2 separate regions of the Homo sapiens genome follow, and region 2 is linked to region 1. Evidence: promoter capture Hi-C in human tissues and cell types (Jung and others, 2019). All regions are on one chromosome and are shown on one strand. Each heading gives the region's core, a stretch centred on a gene start or on the middle of the fragment in contact. The rest is flanking DNA. Distances are from core to core; before and after follow the strand shown. Region 1 holds the start of DDX19A (DEAD-box helicase 19A). Region 2 overlaps ST3GAL2 (ST3 beta-galactoside alpha-2,3-sialyltransferase 2).

Evidence for each region. The method cuts DNA at HindIII sites, captures the fragments that hold promoters and counts their contacts. A contact is called where the count stands out against the background at its distance.
Region 2: a contact is called between a fragment that was not itself captured here and the fragment with the promoter of DDX19A in region 1, in 1 of the 25 tissues and cell types used here (pancreas).

Annotation. Positions count from the first base shown.
Region 1 is chr16:70,343,086-70,348,771 of GRCh38, forward strand. DDX19A (DEAD-box helicase 19A) reads left to right here and starts at 3,818. Exons shown (of 12, transcript NM_018332.5): 1 at 3,818-3,963. The coding sequence starts at 3,907. DDX19A-DT (DDX19A divergent transcript) reads right to left here and starts at 3,662. Exons shown (of 5, transcript NR_039997.1): 1 at 3,114-3,662. RefSeq lists enhancers at 2,818-3,436, 3,437-4,054, 3,573-4,062. The HindIII fragment of the contact is 37,288 bases long and covers 1-5,686 here.
Region 2 is chr16:70,405,388-70,410,326 of GRCh38, forward strand. The region is part of intron 1 of ST3GAL2 (ST3 beta-galactoside alpha-2,3-sialyltransferase 2); the gene reads right to left. Among named protein-coding and RNA genes, the nearest start is that of ST3GAL2, 31 kb to the right of the region's middle. The HindIII fragment of the contact is 9,507 bases long and covers 1-4,939 here.

The DNA of each region.
Region 1 (5,686 bases), core at 2,568-5,067:
CACAAGGGTGTATTTGCCTCATGCTGCTTTTGGGACTCTTGGTTAAACATATGTCCTCACTTCTATTTGAAGTCCAGTAAGGGTAGTGAGTATATCTAACTTAATCACCACTGAATTCCTAGCTGGCAGCAGGGGGGTACTGCAGAGAAAGCTGCCCTGTTAACGTGTGTTAAGAACCAGGTGTGGTGGCTCACACCTATAATCCCAGTGCTTTTGGGAGGCCAAGGCAGGAGGATCACTTGAGGCCAGGAGTTTGAAGTTACAGTAAGCTATGATCACATCATTGTACTCCAGCCTGGGTGACAGGGCAAGGCCCTGTCTCTGTAACAACAACAACAAAAAAAAAACAGAAGTGGGCCTGGCTCAGTGGCTCACACCTGTAATCCCAGCACTTTGGGAGGCCAAGGTGGGAGAATGGCTTGAGCCTGGGAATTTGAGGCTGCAGTGAGCTGTTTGTGCCACTGCACTCCAGCTTGAGTGACAGAGCAAGACCCTGTCTCCCCCAACAACAACAACAAAATCCTCACACCCTCCTTTTTAATGGTACAAATAAATTTATTACTACTTGTATTTTTTAAGTTGGATTTTTTTCATTACATGGCTTTGTCTATTACCTATAGTTTACATAGAGTACAACGCAAAGATAGTAGGTATAAAATTTCATGAGTTTTGATAATTGTATACACGTATAATCACTGCTTCAATCAAGATATAGAGCATTTTTGGCTGGTGTGGTGGCTCATGCCTGTAATCCCAGCACTTTGGGAGGCCGAGGCAGGCGGATCACTTGAGGTCAGGAGTTTGAGACCAATGTGGCCAATGTGGTGAAACCCTGTGTCTACTAAAAATGCAAAAAATTAGCCAGGCCTGGTAGCGGGCGCCTATAGTCCCAGCTACTCAGGAGGCTGAGACAGGAGAATCGCTTGAACTTGGGAGGTGGAGGCTGCAATGAGCTGAGATTGCGCCACTGCACTCCAGCCTTGGAAATAGAGCAAGACTCCGTCTCAAAAAAAAAAAAAAAAAAAAAGATACAGAGCATTTTCATCATCCCTGAAGTTCCCTTGTACCCCTTCCCAGTCAATCCTACTCACTCTATCTCATCCCCAGGCAACCACTGTTCTGATTTCTATCTCTATAGATTAGATATACCTGTTTTGGGCTTATATGAATGGAATCATGCAATATGTACTCTTTTTGCACCTGGGTTCTTTCATGCAATATAATGTCTATGAGATGTCAAATCTCTCCACTTGATCTTGGCCAAGAGAGCGAGACGCGATGAGATGTCAAATCTCTCATCCATGTTATTGCATGTATTTCATTCCTTTTTATTATTATTTTTTGAGACAGAGTCTTGCTCTGTCACCCAGGCTGGAGTGCAGTGGGGCAATCTTGGCTCCCGCAACCTCCGCCTACCGAGTTCAAGCGATTCTCCTGCCTCAGCCTCTCCCGAGTAGCTGGGATTACAGGCGCACCCCACCACACCTGGCTAATTTTTTTTTTTTTTTTTTTTGAGACCGGGTCTCCCTCTGTTGCCCAGGCTGGAGTGCAGTGGCGCGATCTCAGCTCACTGCAAGCTCTGCCTCCTGGGTTCACACCATTCTCCTGCCTCAGCCTCCCGAGTAGCTGGGACGATAGGCACCCGCCACCACGCCCAGCTAATTTTGTTTTTGTATTTTTAGTAGAGACAGGGTTTCACTGTGTTAGCCAGGCTGGTCTCGATCTCCTGACCTCAGGTGATCCACCTGCCTTGGCCTCCCAAAGTGCTGGGATTATAGGCATGAGCCACTGCGCCCGGCCCTAATTTTTGTATTTTTAGTAGAGGTGAGGTTTCGCCATGTTGGCCAGGCTGGTCTCGAACTCCTGACCTCAGGTGATCCACCAGCCTTGGCCTCCCAAAGTGCTAGGGTTATAGGCGTGAGCCACCGCCCCCGGCCCTTTTTTTGATTTTTAATCAACATTATTGAAAGGTATAATTTATATACCATGATATTTTAAATGCACAAGTTCTCACACAAAAATTAGCCAGGGGTGGTGGCGAAGTGCTATATTCCCAGCTGCTGGGGAGCTGAGGTGCGAGGATCACTTGAGTCTGGGAGATCAAGGCTGCAGTGAGCTGTGAACGTGCCACTGCATTCCAGCCTAGGTGACAGAGCAAGACCCTGTCACAAAAAACAAACAAAAACAGTTATTCTTCCTTGGGAACTGCTTATAAAAAAGAAAAAGCAGGTCAGCACTGTGGCTCACACCTGTAATCCCAGCACTTTGGGCGGCCCAGGCAGGCAGATCCTTGAGCTCAGGAGTTCAAGGCCAGCCTAGCCAACGTGGTGAAACTCCATCTCTACTAAAAATACAAACATTATCTGGGCGTGGTGGCGTGTGCCTGTAATCCCAGCTACTTGGGAGGCTGAGGCAGGAGAACCGCTTGAATCCAGGAAGCAGAGGTTGCAGTGAGCCAAGACCCGGCCACTGCACTCCAGCCTGGGTGATATCTGTAAATAATGGTTCCATGAGTTTAGAAATACAAAGTAGCATGACTTAACAAATTTACACATCTATGTAACCAGGTCCCAATCAAGATACAGAATAATTCTATCACCCAGGAAGTTCTCTTGTGTCTGGACCAAACATCCTTCTCCACAGGTAAGCTCTGTTAGTTTTTATCAGCATAGATTTTATTTGTCCTATTCTTGAATCTCATATAAATAGATTATACATTATGTATTTGGTGGTCCTTCAACATAATGGCCAGGTGTGGTGGCTCATGCCTGTAATCCCAACACTTTGAGAGGCCAAGGCAGGAGGATCTCTGGAGTTAGCAGGAGATCAAAAGCAGCCTGAGCAATATAATGAAGACTTCCGTCTCTGCAAAAAGTTTAAAAACTAGCCAGGAGTGGTGGTGCGGGCCTGTGGGCCCAGCTACCTGGGAGGCTGAGGTGGGAGGTCAAGGGTGCAGTGAGCCGAGATCACACCACTGCATTCCAGCCTGGGCGACACAATGAGACCCTGACTCAAAAAAGAAACGAAAAAACGCATTGTGTGTTGTGTTTATTGGATGGTGGAATTATGGGGTTTACGGGTCTTCTGTTGCGTTTTGGTTTTTGTTTTCTTACCTGTTATCGCGTTCCTAACAGTAGAAATTGGCATCATATAGTATTCTCATGGAACTTTCCTTTGTTCAAAGCCCTACAGTTCAGAGACTTACACATTTAATGTGAGATATGACAGGCTTAAAAAGAAACGTTGGGGGCCGGGCGCGGTGGCTCACGCCTGTAATCCCAACACTTTGGGAGGCTGAGGCGGGAGGATCACAAGGTCAGCAGTTCGAGATCAGCCTGGCCAACATGGTGAAACCCCATCTCTACTAAAAATACAAAAATTAGCCGGGCGTGGTGGCGGGCACCTGTAATCCCAGCTACTCGGGAGGCTGAGGTAGAATAGCTTGAACACGGAGGCGGAGGTTGCAGTGAGTCGAGATCCCGCCACGGCACTCCAGCCTGGGACAGAGCGAGACTCCGTCTCGAAAAAAAATAATAAAATAAATAATAAAATAAATAAAATAAAATAAACGTTGGCTTATTTCAGTGTGAAGTAAGGCAATAAACGGAGGGCTAACAGTTCCACTTCGTAGAGCTCAGACATTTTAAGAAGCGAGGAGGCCGCGTCCTGGAAGGGTGAGCAAAAAGCGCGAGGTTTGCGCACGAAGGGAAAGGCGAGGCCCGAGGAGAGACCTGGCGCCGCGCAGAATGATGATGTCGCACGCTGGGTGGGAACTGACGTCACCTGTGCTCACCGCCGCTTCCGGTCCGCGTGAGGTGCATTCTCGCGCCGGTGGCGAGGTTAGGGCCCGCGTTGCGACGTGGTGCAGCGCATATTTTCACAAGTGGGTCTCCCTTGTCCGGGACTATGGCCACCGACTCGTGGGCCCTGGCGGTGGACGAGCAGGAAGCGGCTGTCAAGTCGGTCAGTAGCTCAGCTCCTGGCGAGGAGGACGTAGCAGGGGCCCAAGCGAAACCTCCCAAAAGCACAGGGAGCTCCCCGGGTTGGGGAGGCCCCTGGGCAACGCGCTCCTGCAGTTTGCTAGGGCAGTCACTTGCCCTTGATTTGCTCTTAGAGCTAAAGAGACCAATGTCGAGCTTTTTATCTCCATCTGGGCTGGTTAAGGACTTCATCCTTTGGTAAATCCGCCCCACTATGCATGCTGTCATTCCTCTATTGACCTCCTCGGTGACGATTATAAGGAAAGCCAAGTTTAGATTCTGATTCTCTTTTTCATTACGCGACTGTTCTTCGCATGTTTCTGTACTACTCTGTATTTAACATTTCTTAGATCCATGCTTAACGTGGTTGGTAGTTTGTAGCTCTTTGCAGAATAACAGATTGACTTTTGGATTTAATACCTCAATCTACTGCAGATGTTGGAAGGAGGCACTACAAATTGTTTCATTGATGTGTAAAGTAACGGTTTCATGTACTTGTTCTTTCAGTAATGAATATTCATTCAACTGGAATGTAATTACAGCATACACTGTGGCTTTCTGTTCTTATATCTAAGACCTAAACTTTAGGTTTGTTTAGTGATAATGGACTGTCTTTTTTTTTGTTGTAGTTGTTTCTCTTTTGAGGCAGAGTTTTGCTCTTGTTGCCCAGGCTGGAGTGCAATGGCGCCATCTCGGCTCACCGCAACCTCCGCCTCCCGGGTTCAAGCGATTCTCCTGCCTCAGTCTCCCGAGTAGCTGGGATTACAGGCATGCGCCACCACGCCCGGCTAATTTTGTATTTTTTGTAGAGACGGGGTTTCTCCATGTTGGTCAGGCTGGTCTCGAACTCCCGACCTCAAGTGATCCGCCCACCTCGGCCTCCCAAAGTGCTGGGATTACAGCCGTGAGTCACCGCGCCCAGCCGGTATGGGGATTTTTGAGAGGGCTATTGACAGAATTAGACAAGGCTGGCAAGGATTTATTGAACTACAGAGAACAGAATATGTTAGAAGTGATGGCTAATAGAAATATCAGTGTAGAAGTTATTCTGATAGCCCCGAGATAGAGGGCCTATGTTGGGCAGTGGAAGTGAAAATTAAGGGATGGGTATAAGATATGAAGGTAGAATGGGTAGGACTTGCTAACATAATAAAGGAGAGAAGGGAGATAAAGCCAAAGGTTTCTGTTTTCAACCTGGATCCTATTGGTACTACTAACGTCCCAATAACAGGAATAGGAAAGTGGGAGGAAGGGCAGATTTGATAGAATGGTGAAGGCAGCCGGGCATGATGGCACCCACCTGTGATCCCAGCACTTTGGGAGGCCGAGGCGGGCAGATCACTCGAGGTCAAGAGTTTGATACCAGCCTGGCCAACATAGTGAAACCCTGTCTCTACTAAAAATACAAAAGTTAGCCAGGCGTGGTAGTCGTCCCCTGTTAATACCAGCTACTCAGGAGGCTGAGGCATGAGAATTGCTTGAACCTGGGAGGTGGAGGTTGCAGTGAGCCAAAATTACGCCACTGCACTCCAGCCTGGGCTACTGAGTGAGACTCTGTCTCAAAAAAAAAAAAAAAAAAAAAAAGAGGTGAAGGCTGGGCACAGTGGCTCACACCTGTAATCCTAGCACTTTGGGAAACTGAGACAGGCAGATCAGTTGAACCCAGGAGTTCAAGACCAGTGTGGGCAACATGGCGAAACCCCATT
Region 2 (4,939 bases), core at 1,217-3,716, 61 kb after region 1:
AAAATTAGCCGGGCATGGTGGCGGGAGCCTGTAGTACCAGATACTCGGAAGGCTGAGGCAGGAGAATGGCATGAACCCGGGAGGCGGAGCTTGCAGTGAGCCGAGATTGCGCCACTGCACTCCAGCCTGGGTGACACAGTGAGACTCCGTCTTAAAAAAAAAAAAAAAAAAAAAAAAAAGGAAAAAAAGGAATAAGGCACAAAAGGCCCCATGCCAGATGATTTATGTAAAATGTACAGAATAGGCAAATCCATAGAGACAGACAGTAGATTACCAGTTGCCAGGGGCTGGAGGATAGAGAAGAATGGGGAATGACTGCCAGTGGGTTGGAGTTTTCTTCTGGGGTGATGTTCCAAAATTGTTTGTGGTGAATAGGTTAAAAGCCACTGACAGCCAGGCGCGGTGGCTCACGCCTGTAATCCCAGCACTTTGGGAGGCCGAGGCAGGTGGATCACGAGGTCAGGAGATCAAGACCATCCTGGCTAACATGGTGAAACCCCGTCTCTACTAAAAACACAAAAAAATTAGCCAGGCATGGTGGCGGGCGCCTGTGGTCCCAGCTACTCAGGAGGCTGAGGCAGGAGAATGGCGTGAACCCGGGAGGCAGAGCTTGCAGTGAGCCGAGATCATGCCACTGCACTCCGGCCTGGGCAACAGAGCAGGACTCCGTCTCAAAAAAAAAAAAAGCCACTGACTTGTATGTTTCAAAGAGATGAACTGCATGGTGTGTGAATTATAGCTCAATAAAGGTGTTACAACAAAAAGAGAGAATGGTGCTGGGCGTGGTGGCTCACCCCTGTAATCCCAGCACTCTGGCAGGCCGAGGTGGGCAGATCACCTGGGGTCAGGAGTTCAAGATCGGCCTGGCCAACATGGTGAAACCCCATCTCTACTAAAAATAACAAAACTTAGCTGTGGGTGGTGGCAGGGCCAACATGGTGAAACCCCATCTCTACTAAAAATAACAAAAATTAGCCGGGGGGTGGTGGCAGAGGCACCTGTAGTCCCAGCTACTAGGGAGGCTGAGGCAGGAGAAATGCTTGAACCCAGGAGGTGGAGGTTGCAATGAGCCGAGATTATGCCACTGCACTCCAGCCTGGGCTGGAGTGGGGGGCCAGGCACAGTGGCTCACAGCTGTGATCCCAGCACTTTGGGATGCCGAGGGTGGCGGATCTCCTGAGGTTAGGAGTTTGAGACCAGCTTGGCCAACATGGCAAAACCCCATCTCTACTAAAAATACAAAAATTAGCTGGGTGTGGTGGCATGCGCCTGTAATCCCGCTACTTCGGAGGCTGAGGCAGGAGACTCGCTTGAACCTGGGAGGTGGAGGTTGCGGTGAGCCAAGATCGTGCCACCGCACTCCAGCCTGGGTGACAGAGTGAGACTCTGTCTCAAAAAAAAAAAAGGAATGGGATGTAAGAGAGTGGAATGTGGAATGGGATTCAGCTGAGAGATGGTCTAGAATGTGTGTACACTGATGGGAATGAATTATTAGAGGGGAAATTTATGATCCAGGAAAAAGAAGTGAACAGAGGAACAAAGGCCGGGAGCAGCACGAGATGATGGCATCGAGTGTCGTCCTGGAGGGGGGCTACCTGTGGGACAGGTGGCAAAGCCGAGCAAGCGGCACAGACAGTGAGGAGTGTCCCTTTATTGTTGGGGTTGGAGATTTACAGAGAGACCAGATGTGAAATAGTCTTCTAAAAGAGAAAGGGAGTAACTAGGGAAATTTAGGAGGTGGCAAGACAACACTATGGCCTTTTTTTTTTTTTTTATGGAGTCTCACTCGGTTGCCCAGGCTGGAGTGCAGTGGCGCAATATTGGCTCACTGCAACCTCCACCTCCTGGGTTCAAGCAATTCTCCTGCCCCAGCCTCCCAAGCAGCTGGCACTATAGGCCCGTGCCACCACGCCCAGCTAATTTTTGTATTTTCAACAGAGATGAGGTTTCGCCATGTTGGCTAGGCTGGTCTCAAACTCCTGACCTCAAGTGATCCGCCTGCCTCGGCCTCCCCAGGTGCTGGAATTACAGGTGTGAGCCACTGTGCCAATACTACAGTCTTCTAAGAAGTTTGTGGTCACAAATTTGGCAAATTTGGGGAGACCATTTATCAATAAATGTCCCCTGAATGGCTGGTCCATGTCCAAGTTGCTGAGGCTGTCCAGAGGAACTGGCAGCCAGGATCCAGAGGTCAGGGGCAGCAAGGGCCTTGAAGACCCCGCCTTCCATCCTCAGGAGATGCAGCCGAAGGGCTACTTCCACCTCCCAGTACAAGGAACCTCAAAGGAGACCCTCACCAGCACGCAGGTAAATGGAAGGAAAAAACAAAAGCACCTGATTGAGGAGCAAAGCAAAGAGTGCCCCAAAACGAGAACAGCAGGGACTGTTTTGGAGGCTGTAGCAGCTTTAGAGCCAATTCTCGGTCAGATCCCAGGAGACAGCCATCAACGACTTAACCTAATGAAGCACAGGATAAGCACCACCTCAGACCAGCACAGCTGAATACAACCTTCTTGGCATGCAGAGAAAAGAAACGTCAAAATAAGGCACGGAGCCTGGGGGGATGGGTGCTGCTTGCCTCTGGGAGGGAGAGGAGAAAGACGAAAGATAAAGCCCCTCTCCACCCACTTACACACAGCCTGAGGACGTGTCCCAAAGCTCATTCTAAAGGCATGAAGCCACAGCCTACTGCTCCAATGGACCGATGCTTTATGAACCTCTGAGCATTTTCGGGGGATAGCCTCTCATTTAGTATGCGCAGGAGTCCCAGGACCAGCTGAACAAGGTCAGCCAGGCGGAAGTGAAGATGCTTTAACGCCATGCCAGGTCTGATGACTTCAAGCCCAGAGCTCCTTCCACAGCCCCCACTGCCTTCCCAAAGCACTCTTCCACTAACTGGGGTACAACCATCAAAACATTCGCTGTGCCCCAGATCCCTGCCAGCCTAGCAACCCAGAACACTCCCTGCCTCCTGGGTGGGGGGCAGCACCCAAACCAGGCAGAAGGAGCTGGGGCGGAGGGGTGGGGGTGGGCGCAGGTGGCCAGTTACCGAAAGCCCCTCCCTCCCCAACAACTCAAAAGCAGCGAGGCCTGTCCTTGACCTGTCTGAGAATGGGCCGCTTCACCACCCTGCTTGGTTAACTGAAGTCACCCGCACTGCAACACCCTGGTATCAGCCTCTGGCACAGACCCCTCAGTGCTACCCTAGGGACTCAGGCCCTTTCCACTCCGCAGCACCAAACCCTCGGGCAGCCCCTCCCTTCCTGCAGGACATCCAACTTTGACTTTATATCCATCTGAAATCTCAGCTCTGGTACCTCTTGATGCCGCCCAGAGTTTGTAGCCAGAAACCCAGAAGGCAAGAGCTAACACACTTCTTCAAACCAAGAGCATAACTTTGGCTTTCAATGAAGTCCTAGAGAAATAAACTGTCAGTCTTCTCTGGACAAAGATCGAGGCTGCACCCTAACAGCCTCTTCCTGTAGGAGACAGCTCAAAGAAACAAAAAAAAAAAAAAAAAAAAAAAAAAAAAAAAAAAAAGAAAGAAAAAATAAAGAAACGGCCTCTAAGAGGAGGAAGCTGGGCCCTGAGGCACGGGGAGAGGGTGCGGCAGGGGAGTTGGGGTGAAGGGTCCCTTCAGATCCACCACCTGCTACCTCAGGAGGGAGCCCCACTGTGTTTTGAGTCGGAGTGGGCAGGGGGAAATCCAGTATCTTGCTGTACCTATCTACACTAAGGCATGAAGTAACGTCTAGAAAAACAGTTCTCGGCTGGTTGTGGTGGCTCACACCTATAATCCCAGCACTTTGGGAGACTGAGGCTGGATGATCGCTTCAGTCCAGGGGTTGGAGCCTGGGCAACAGAGTGAGACCTCATCTCTATTTTATGAAAAAAGTTCAAACCACCTGTGTGGGGAAGACCAGGTCTCTCCACATTCTAGCTAGCTTCCCGCCTCTGGCGGCTTTTTTTTTTTGAGACGGAGTTTTGCTCTTATTGCCCAGACTGGAGTACAATGGCGTGATCTTGGCTCACCGCAACCTCCACTTCCCAGGTTCAAGCAATTTTCCTGCCTCGGTCTCCTGAGTAGCTGGGATTACAGGCATGCGCCACCATGCCTGGCTAATTTTGTATTTTTAGTCGAGATGGGGTTTAACCGTGTTGGCCAGGCTGGTCTCGAACTCCCAGCCTCAGGTGTTCCGCCCACCTCCGCCTCCCAAAGTGTTGGGATTACAGGTGTCAGCCACTGCGCCCAGGCTTTTTCCCCCTTTTTGAGACAGGATCTCACTCTGCTGCCCAGACTGGAATGCCGGTGGCGCAATCACAGTTGACTGTAGACTCGACCACCTGGGCTCAAATGATCCTACCTCAGGCCCCCGAGTAGCTAGGACCATAGGCATACGCCACCAGACCTGGCTAAATTTTTTTTTTTTTTTTTTTTTTCATAAAGACAGGGTCTTGCTATGTTCCCCAGGCTGGACTTGAACTCTCAGACTCCTGCCTCAGCCTCCCAAGTAGCTGGGACTACAGGTGTGCACTACTTTTGTTGTTTTTTTTGTTGTTGTAGAGATGATGTCTTGCTATGTTGCCCAGGCTGATCTCCAACTCCTGTTCTCAAATGATCCTCCCAACGTGGCCTCCCAAAGAGCTGAGATTGCAGATATGAGCCACCTTGCTCAGTCCTCAGACTTCTTTGCTTTTTATTTCACCTGATGCTGTTGTTGTTTTCAAATAGATGAGTTTAATCCATTTCACTTGGAGTTATGTTACTATCTTATTCAGTATTTTGTCTACTATTTTTTCTGTATTTTTTTTCTTTTCCTGACTTGGGTTGACATATTATCTCCACCCTCACCTTTTTTTTTTTTTTTTTTTTTTTTTTTTGAGACGGAGTCTCACCCTGTCACCCAGGCTGGAGTGCAGTGGCTTGATCTCGGCTCAC